3 separate regions of the Homo sapiens genome follow, and regions 1 and 2 are each linked to region 3. Evidence: promoter capture Hi-C in 16 types of primary human blood cells and fetal thymus (Javierre and others, 2016). All regions are on one chromosome and are shown on one strand. Each heading gives the region's core, a stretch centred on a gene start or on the middle of the fragment in contact. The rest is flanking DNA. Distances are from core to core; before and after follow the strand shown. Region 1 overlaps TXLNA (taxilin alpha). Region 2 overlaps KPNA6 (karyopherin subunit alpha 6). Region 3 holds the start of MARCKSL1 (MARCKS like 1).

What was found. Contacts are between HindIII fragments. The CHiCAGO score rates a contact against its expected background, and 5 or more counts as called.
Region 1: a contact is called between a fragment that was not itself captured here and the fragment with the promoter of MARCKSL1 in region 3, in 8 of 17 cell types (non-activated CD4 T cells, activated CD4 T cells, naive B cells and 5 more). The highest score is 8.4, in non-activated CD4 T cells.
Region 2: a contact is called between a fragment that was not itself captured here and the fragment with the promoter of MARCKSL1 in region 3, in 1 of 17 cell types (total CD8 T cells). The highest score is 5.4, in total CD8 T cells.

The regions. Positions count from the first base shown.
Region 1 is chr1:32,181,132-32,184,349 of GRCh38, reverse strand. TXLNA (taxilin alpha) reads right to left here. Exons shown (of 11, transcript NM_175852.4): 3 at 2,773-3,108. Among named protein-coding and RNA genes, the nearest start is that of TXLNA, 3.1 kb to the right of the region's middle. The HindIII fragment of the contact is 4,926 bases long and covers 1-3,218 here.
Region 2 is chr1:32,159,328-32,162,680 of GRCh38, reverse strand. KPNA6 (karyopherin subunit alpha 6) reads right to left here. Exons shown (of 14, transcript NM_012316.5): 6 at 3,150-3,281; 7 at 1,978-2,066; 8 at 635-734; 9 at 157-320. Among named protein-coding and RNA genes, the nearest start is that of TXLNA, 19 kb to the left of the region's middle. The HindIII fragment of the contact is 1,103 bases long and covers 1,001-2,103 here.
Region 3 is chr1:32,334,268-32,337,486 of GRCh38, reverse strand. It overlaps MARCKSL1 (MARCKS like 1), which reads left to right and starts at 1,254. Exons shown (of 2, transcript NM_023009.7): 1 at 1,254-1,540; 2 at 2,390-3,219. The coding sequence starts at 1,454. The coding sequence ends at 2,890. It overlaps LOC124903949 (a long non-coding RNA gene), which reads right to left and starts at 2,110. Exons shown (of 2, transcript XR_007065661.1): 1 at 1,983-2,110. RefSeq lists silencers at 1-9, 943-1,472, 1,493-1,642, 1,773-1,852, 1,993-2,432 and enhancers at 673-762, 1,032-1,601. The HindIII fragment of the contact is 20,076 bases long and covers 1-3,219 here.

The sequences.
Region 1 (3,218 bases), core at 412-2,911, 150 kb after region 3:
CAGTACTGTCCATAGTACCATCACAGAGGATATGCTCAACAAATGCTTATCAAATGAACGACTGTACCCTAGTGAAATCTCCTTAGTAGGCACCATTGGCAGGAGAAAAAAACTGCCTGCTCTACCAATAGAAGAAAGGTGTCCCACTTATGAATTCAGGGCTACTGTTTCATACTGTTTCAATGCAAGGAAGGCCCACCCTCCTGATAGAGGTAGGATCCAAAAAGGAATAGGTATCTTAGCCTCCTTGAGAAATACTAAACTCTTGTCAACAGAGTAGCCAAACAGTGAACTTTAAAATGAAGATACTTTCGGCCAGGCAAGGTGGCTCATGCCTGTAATCCCAGCACTTTGGGAGGCCGAGGCAGGCGGATCACGAGGTCAAGAGATCGAGACCATCCTAACATGGTGAAACCCCATCTCTACTAAAGACATACACAAAAAAATTAGCTTGGTGTGGTGGCACGCGCCTGTAGTCCCAGTTACTCCGGAGGCTGAGGTAGGAGAATCGCTTGAACCCAGGAGGCGGAGGTTGCAGTGAGCCCAGATCGCGCCACTGCACTCCAGCTTGGTGACAGAGCGAGACTCTGTCTAAAAAAATTAATTAATTAAAAAAAAAAGGCAGGGTACAGTGGCTTACGCCTGTAATCCCAGCACTTTGGGAGGCTGAGGCGGGCGGATCACGAGGTCAGGAGATCAAAACCATCCTGGCTAACACAGTGAAACCCCGTCTCTACTAAAAAAAATACAAAAAAATTAGCCGGGCATGGTAGCAGGAGCCTGTAGTCCCAGCTACTCGGGAGGCTGAGGCAGGAGAATGGCGTGAACCCAGGAGGTGGAGCTTGCAGTGAGCCGAGATCGCGCCACTGCACTCCAACCTAGGGACAGAGCGAGGCTCCATCTCAAAAAAAAAAAAAAAAAAAAAAGGCAGGGTACGGTGGCCCACGCCTGTAATCCCAGCACTTTGGGAGGCCCAGGTGGGCGGATCATGAGGTCAGGAGATCGAGACTATCCTGGCTAACACAGTGAAACCCTGTCACTACTAAAAAAATACAAAAATTAGCCGGGCATGGTGGCAGGCGCCTGTAGTCCCAGCTACTCGGGAGGCTGAGGCAGGAGAATGGTGTGAACCCGGGAGGCGGAGCTTGCAGGGAGCTGAGATCGCGCCAGTGCACTCCAGCTTGGGTGACAGAGCAAGACTCCATCTCAGTTGGGGGTGGGGGGTGAAGAAGATGATACTTTCCATGTATGTGACGTTAAGATTTTTTCCTTTTTCTTTTTTTGAGATGGAGTCTCACCCTGTCACCCAGGCTGGAGTGCAATGGCATGATCTCAGCTCACTGAAAACTCTGCCTCACGGGTTCAAGTGATTCTCCTGCCTCAGCCTCCCGAGTATCTGGGATTATAGGCACGTGCCACCACGCCCGGCTGATTTTTTGTATCTTTAGTAGAACTGGGGTTTCACCATGTTGGCCAGGCTGGTCTCGAACTCCTGACCTCATAATCTGCCTGCCTTGGCCTCCCAAAGTGCTGGAGTTACAGGTGTGAGCCACTCTGCCTAGTCGTCCCTAAGATTTTTTAAAGTTCCTCTTTAAAGTAAGAGGATACATAAGGGGAAAAGGGAATAGGAATAAAACATGGATATAATGACACTCGACTTAGATTCTAGATTCTTTTTTTTTTTTTTTGAGACAGAGTTTCACTCTTGTCACCCAGGCTGGATGTAGTGGCACAATCTCAGTTCACTGCAACCTCTGCCTCCCGGGTTCAAGCCATTCTCCTGCCTCAGCCTCCCAAGTAGCTGGGATTACAGGCGTGTGCCAGCATGTCCAGCTAATTTTTGTATTTTTAGTAGAGACGGGATTTCATCATGTTGGCCAGGCTGTTCTCGAACTCCTGACCCTCAGGTGATCCACCCGCCTCGGCCTCCCAAAGTGCTGCAATTACAGGCGTGAGCCACCACACCCGGCCTAGACTCTTAAACATACATACCCTGCTGTAAAATGACTGTCACTGCCTATTCCCCATTGCCTGTGACTGAGTCAGGGAGCCTTCCCTCTGCCTCCCCAGAAGGGCCCAAGAGATCAGCATGGAGACTGCAATTCGCAGGCATGTGTGCCAAATCCAACCCACGGATGGGTTTTGTTTGGCTCTTACCATTTTAGCTGCTAACTATGAAAAAATCTAGAGTTCTCACATAACTCTAGATTTCTGGCTTTTCTTTATTTAAAAAAAAAAAAAAAAAAAAAAAGCCTGACTGCACCCAGCCTGTAGTTTTGCCTGCTCTCAGTTGGCTAGCTGAGAGCAACTAATCAGGAAGCAGTAAAGCCTCCATCTTCAGGTGGCCCCATGGCCAGCCCAGCTTATGCAGATATTTGGGTTTTCAACTCTGGCCTAGTCTAATTTTCTTACTGTAAAGAGAAATATAAACTAAGACCCAGAGAGGAGAAGGGACACACCCAAGGTCACACAGCAGGTAGTACTGGCTGGCACAGGAGCCTACCCTAGCCTCCCGTCTCCATTTTCTCAAAGAGAGAACAGGTCCCATGCCAAGCTCCAGTTGCTCCAAAACCCAGAAGGCTTTGTGCTGGTAACTCCTGCATCTCTCTATGCCGTGGCCCCCACATCCCTGGCTTTGATTAGACTAGAGTGACTTGCTGCTCTGAGAAGTACCGTTTTCCTTTGAATCCTGGCAGAACAGACTGGCCCAGAGAACGTCAAGTCCAAACTCCCTCTCCTCACCAGCTTCACAAAGAGCCGCCCTCTGCTCACCCAAACCCTTGGCTTTTTTCTTCTCCTGTGGCCTTCGATGGTCTCGGTCTCCGACCTCGTCACTCTGCCGGATCTCTTCTGTGTTTGGATCCCCCTTGGAGGGTTCCTTCTCTCCATTGACTACTGGAGTTGGTTCAGGCTCCCCATTCCTTGCCACATAGGTCCGGGACTTCTCTGCATCTTCGGGTTCAGCCGGCTCACCCTGTGCCCCATCCTCGCCGGGGCCCCCCTGGTTATTGTCCACACAGTATGTGCTCAGTATGTCTTCCAGTTGGCGGCTCAGCTCCTCAGAGACATCACGAAGGGCCCCAGACTGAGCCGTTCTGGCTTGAGCCCCTACAGCAGGAGAGGATGAGGGGTAGAGTGAGAAAGAAGACGATTATACCACTGGTTGGGATTTTTCAGGCCCAGCCAAACTCATCAGTTTGAGTTAAATGTTGCCTAAC
Region 2 (3,353 bases), core at 303-2,802, 180 kb after region 3:
GTATTTTTAGTAGAGACGGGGTTTCACCATGTTGGTCAGGCTGGTCTCGAACTCCTGACCTTGTGATCCGCCCACCTTGGCATCCCAAAGTGCTGGGATTATAAGCATAAGCCACCGTGCCCAGCCAGAACCTGTACCCCTTCTAAGACCACTCACATCAGCAGCTCTACCAATCTCCGGCAGACTCCGGAGTCTATGACTGCCTGGATCTTCTCATTGGGGCCATCAGACAGATAAGAAAGGGCCCAGCAAGCATCTGCCAGCAAGTCCGAGTCGCTGCTGAAGAGTAGGCGAGACAGTACAGGCAAACAAGGAGAGACCTGTGGGAAGCAGAGTGAGAAAGACTCACAGGGGAACAAGACTATATCAGCTCTATCACGAACCCTAACATTGCAACCACCGCCCCCACAATACACACACACAAGTAATTCCAGACCCTAGGGATCGCTACTACATTAAACATTTGGGTCTACCTTTTCACTTTACTATCCAGGTACACAAGATCATCTACTTCACTAACAATTGCTTCTTTCAGTTTCCCATGATTTGAGACTCCAAGGAGTATCCCAAAGACTTAAAAACTCCATATGAAGGAACCTGATGTCACTCAGGGTCTAGTAAGTAGCTCTCTCACCTTTGCAAACTCTGGGGGTGGGTTTTTCCCTCGGCAGAGATTTGACAGGGCCCAGACTGCATTCCGTGTCATCGTCAGTCGTGTGGACTTGGTAAGGAGTCTGAAGGAAACAGCAAAGCCAGATCCTGAGCACTGAGGCCTTGGCATAGGACTGTTGCCAATGAACCCAGAGACAAATCCAATGAGACCTCTCAGACTCTAGCAGCCTGTTTCTTCCTACTCACAGACCTAAGTTAATAGAGCTGGTATAGGTTAGGAGGCCAGGCTCTATACAGAGTATTCATTTCAGGACCAGCTGTGGCTAGTTAATACCATAGATAATAGGGACGAAACAGAGGGCTAGATCTGGAGTAAGCCTGTAAAGCTTCTAAAGTGGGATATATCATGCCCATAACCCTGGCCACAAGTCCAGGACAAGGAATGGTGTTCTCTGGAAATAAAAGCTAAAAGTCTAAGAAATAAAAGCTATAGGTCTACTGTGAGAGCTTTAGCCACACAGTATGGAATAATTTTCTGTGAAGGGTCCAAGAAAGTGACAGTGGTAGGCTATGAGACTGTGGTCTCTGAAGAACAGTTCATTCATCTGTTTTGGTTTAGGCATAGTTTACTCTAAGGGTACGGAGGGAAGGATGGGAGAAGGATACAATGACGCTTCACGGGGTCTTTGATCTATAATTTACGACAGAGCTGTCCGATGTATGTATGCAAAACCCCATAACAAATCAATGCATTTTGTAGAGAAGGTTGGATTTTTCCAGGTGGGCTAGTCCTGCCTCTCTCCCCTGGCTCAACAATGAGGAGGATATGAGGATATGACTAACATGAGGTTCTGCAGTGCCATGAAGTGAGGAACAAGATCCTTTTTGGCAGATGGGTGGCACAATCTTTTTTTTTTTTCACTCTTTTGCCCAGGCTGAAGTGCAGTGGTGTGATCAATCACAGCTCACTGTAGCCTTGATCTCCCTGGGCTCAGGTGATCCTCCCTGCCTCAGCCTCCCAAGTAGCTGAGTCTACAGGTGCCTGCCACCACACCTGGCTAACTTTTGTATTTTTTGTAGAGTTGGGGTTTCACCATGTTGCCCAGGCTGGTTTTGAACTCTAGGCTCAAGGGATCCACCTGCTCTGGCCTACCAAAGTGCTGGGATTACAGGCATAAGCCACCATGCCCGGCCACAACCTTCTCAATCTCCAAAGATACCTATCTTTTACTTTGGCAATCAGAATGCATTTTTATAGTTTTTGCACTTACCTATCATCTTAAGGAATCAAGTATGCTGCCCCCAAATGACCTGCCACGTGGCCACCCAGTAGACGCCCAGGTACAGATGATTATAATTACTCACGTTAACAAAGGATTAAGGATGGAACAGTTCAAGACGTAATCTCGGCAAACAGAGCTATCTCCAGCTATGTTTCCCAGTGCCCAGACTGCCTGAAAAGGGGATAATGAAACTGTCACCCACAAAGCTTGGTACTCCTGTGAGTACTTTATAGCCACAACTGCAAAGTGAGTACCCACCAGGATGAGAATGATGTCAAGGCCCCAAATATACTACACAAGCTCAGGTAACCTCCCTATTGAAATTCTTACTGAGCACTTGTTCTACAATGACCTATCCCTGGGAGTTCCTGGTTCAGCAGGGAAAGACAGGCTGCCATCTGTACTATAGCCACAGAAGCCAAAACAATATCGCCCAGAAAAGGAGAAAGTAATCAGAAAGTTGCATTTTTTTTTTTTTTTTTTTTTGAGACGGAGTCTCGCTCTGTCACCCAGGCTGGAGTGCAGTGGCACAATCTCTGCTCACTGTAACCTCCACCTCCCGGGTTCAAGTGATTCTCCTGTCTCAAGCCTCCTGAATAGCTGGGATTACAGGTAAGCTCCACCATGCCCAGCTAACTTTTTAGTATTTTTAGTAGAGATGGAGTTTCACCATGTTGGTCAGGCTGGTCTTGAACTCCTGACCTCGTGATCTGCCCACCTCGGCCTCCCAAAGTGCTGGGATTATAGGCGTGAGCCACCGCGCCTGGCGAAAGTTGCACTCTTGTAGCTGCCTTGGACCAAGTCTATAAAAGAGCCCACTACCACTCTCCAATTCTATCCAACTAGTAAGAATTCAATGGGAGAAATGGAAGTTGTATCTTTATCTCCATGATTTGTGGGTACTCAGATATGGGTACTGTGGTGTCTTTTTTCCAATGGCACTTCCAACAACAAATGTATAGAGTTTTTTCCACATCAACCACCCATTCTCTGATACCAACCATGTGTCCAACGATTTAATTCAATTCTGACTCTAACACCTAGAGTTAATGCAGAGTCCGCAGGTTAGTCCCACAAGACTGCCCCAACTTGAGATACCAGTTGCAAGTCCCAGGGGCCATCTGTACTTGACACCCCTATCACTCAGGAAATTCCAAGAGTTTTAACACTGTGCCAAGAACCAGGACAAAGACCAAATATATTTTTTATTATACCACAGGTACTATAAAGAATCACACCAAATCTAAGCATTACCTGTTCCTGAACATCCTCAAAGTCTGAATTAAGCAGCTCTATAAAAATGGGGACAGCCCCTGCTTCAATGACAATTTTGGTCTGCTGAGAGGTTCCAGAGGCAATATTCGTTAGAGCCCAGGCAGCTTCAAACTGAAAGTGAGATTAAGCAATGATTGAAAGGTCATTTCAGACTGAGCAGCCATGCCTATCAGCTGGCTCAGA
Region 3 (3,219 bases), core at 5-2,504:
ACCGTAGGAGGGAGGGGAGGGACTTGCTGAGCTGGCTGGGACACAGCCTTGCATTTGCAACACTTTGCTTCCTTCCAGCCCCCATCCCTTTCCTCCTGGGGGCTGAGGGCTGGCAGCCGGACACAGACATCCGGGGCCGGCCAGGATTCTGGGGTTCCCACCAGCCTATCCAGGCCAGCAGAAGGAGAGGTGGCAGAGGACCAAAGCTAGGGAGTCTCCAGCCCGGAGCACCTCCGGGCTCCCTTGCTCTCAGGCAGGGTGGGAAGCTGGGCTGGGCAGCTTTGAGGGCTGTCCTCAAGGGGCTGTCCCTTGAAGGGACCCTTGGTAGCATCCTATCCCTCCCCTTCAGAAACTGGGGTGTTTTGAGGTTTGTTGAGTCCCCAGCTGGGGTTCCTCTGCCGGCCTGGGGCACCCTGATGTAGGGGAGCAGAGTTGTGTGTGGAGGTAAAGAGGAAGGACCAGAGCCAAGTCAGACAGGTTGTCAATGCCTCTGAGCCTTGGCCTTTCAATGGGGATGGAGATGCCCTTCAAGGTCACAAAGTCCCCCACGTGGGACTTTGCAGTGGGTCCAGGCTGAGGGCAGGAGGGGCTCAAGGCGAATCTGTCTGTCCCCACTCAGAATGACTGGCCACCAAGGGACTGAAAGGAGGAATGAGGGAAAGGCCTCACTAGTCCGACCAGAGTGACCCCGAGGCAAGGCAGAGCCCTCCGCTCCCCGGCTGGCCATGGCAGGCAGGCAGGGACGTGGGTGGGACCTCTGACCGCTCTCCAGGCCGGAGCGGGTGCCGAGCCCAGCGCAGGGGCCCTGCAGCTTCTATGACCACATTTCTAGAGTATAATTCAGGACCAGCCATCTGACGAGCCTGGTCGTGTGAGCCCTTCGAAGGGTTCAAGCGGGAGACTGCCAGCGGCTGCAGGACCAAGGCGTTGGGGGCCGCTCCAGGCTGCGGGGGCGCCCACCGGAGAGGTGGAGCGGAGAGGATGGAATGACTGCCCGTCTCCTTCCTCCAGGCCCCCCGCCCCGCCCCGCCCAGCTCGCGGGAGGACTGGCCTCGCTCCTGCCCACACCGGACTCTACCTGCCCCTGGGATTCGGGTGGGGTGGGGGGTACCCGACCGCCAGCGTCGCCTGCTGCGCAAGTGGGGCCTGCGAGCCAACCCCGCCTCCGCCCCTCGATTGGGCGCGCATTTAAATGTCCGGCCCCGCCCCGAGCTCCGGGCGCTTATATATAGGCAGCTCGGCGGGCGGCGGGCGGCATTCTGGCGCGGAGCGGAGCGGCGGCGGGCGCAGCTAGCGGGTCGGCCGCGGAGCGGAGGTGCAGCTCGGCTTCCCCCGGCACCCCTCCCCCTCGGGCGCCAGCCCCACCCCTCCGCCGGCCGGGCCGACCCCGCCGTACTATCCCCTGCGGCGCGAGCCCGGGGCGGCTCCAAGCGCCCCCCAGCAGACCCCCATCATGGGCAGCCAGAGCTCCAAGGCTCCCCGGGGCGACGTGACCGCCGAGGAGGCAGCAGGCGCTTCCCCCGCGAAGGCCAACGGCCAGGTGGGTACGCTTGGCCCGGCCGGCCCCAGCCCCTCCTCTCGCACCTCGCCCCTTCTAGGGCCCGGGGCCGGGGCCGGGGCCGCGCGCTTTGTCCGGCCCGGGACACGCGGCGCCCCCTCCCCCGCCCGGTCCCTTTGTTCTCGGCGCCGCAGCCCCCGCGGGCGAAGCGAGGGGAGGGGCGGGGAGGGGGCGCCGGCCGGGCCCTGCCGCCTTCTTTGTTCGCGGCCCCGGTCCCCGGCGCTGCCCCCCGGCCGCCCCGAGTGCCGCGCGGGGAACAAAGGCGCTGCTGGGCCACGCCAAGGGGGCGCCCAGGGGCCGCGGAGCTGGGGCCCGGCGGGGAGCGCACTCCACCCGCCGACCCGACCTCGGTGGCCCACGGTCTTTTTTTTTTTAAGGGGGAGCCGAGATGCGGGAGAGCCTGGGGTGGGTGGGGGCCACTTACACAAAGCGGGAGGCTGGGAAAATAGGCCGTCCAGGTGCAGAGAGACAGCGCCCCGGGGCGGCTTCCCGCCCAATGTCGCCTAGAGCGGCTCGCCCGCCTGCCCGGGATCCGCACAGCAGATCCGGAGCGGTTCCGCGCGGAATAGAGAGCGCGCCCCGGGGGACGGGGGTGGGGGCCACGGGACCCCAGCGCCTCCTGCCGGTCGCGCCCTCTGCGCGCTCGCTCCCCGCGCGCCCGTGAGGGGCGAGAGGGAGGTGTTTGACGGGATCCTGGGTGTGGGTGAGGCTGAAGCCAGACTTTCGGGTTGCAGTAGAATCGAATCGAGGACCCCTTCCTCTAGAAGGGATCAGAAGCGGGCTGGGGGAGGGGGAGCCCCTGCCCTCATTGCTATTCCCTCTGCCCTGCAGGAGAATGGCCACGTGAAAAGCAATGGAGACTTATCCCCCAAGGGTGAAGGGGAGTCGCCCCCTGTGAACGGAACAGATGAGGCAGCCGGGGCCACTGGCGATGCCATCGAGCCAGCACCCCCTAGCCAGGGTGCTGAGGCCAAGGGGGAGGTCCCCCCCAAGGAGACCCCCAAGAAGAAGAAGAAATTCTCTTTCAAGAAGCCTTTCAAATTGAGCGGCCTGTCCTTCAAGAGAAATCGGAAGGAGGGTGGGGGTGATTCTTCTGCCTCCTCACCCACAGAGGAAGAGCAGGAGCAGGGGGAGATCGGTGCCTGCAGCGACGAGGGCACTGCTCAGGAAGGGAAGGCCGCAGCCACCCCTGAGAGCCAGGAACCCCAGGCCAAGGGGGCAGAGGCTAGTGCAGCCTCAGAAGAAGAGGCAGGGCCCCAGGCTACAGAGCCATCCACTCCCTCGGGGCCGGAGAGTGGCCCTACACCAGCCAGCGCTGAGCAGAATGAGTAGCTAGGTAGGGGCAGGTGGGTGATCTCTAAGCTGCAAAAACTGTGCTGTCCTTGTGAGGTCACTGCCTGGACCTGGTGCCCTGGCTGCCTTCCTGTGCCCAGAAAGGAAGGGGCTATTGCCTCCTCCCAGCCACGTTCCCTTTCCTCCTCTCCCTCCTGTGGATTCTCCCATCAGCCATCTGGTTCTCCTCTTAAGGCCAGTTGAAGATGGTCCCTTACAGCTTCCCAAGTTAGGTTAGTGATGTGAAATGCTCCTGTCCCTGGCCCTACCTCCTTCCCTGTCCCCACCCCTGCATAAGGCAGTTGTTGGTTTTCTTCCCCAATTCTTTT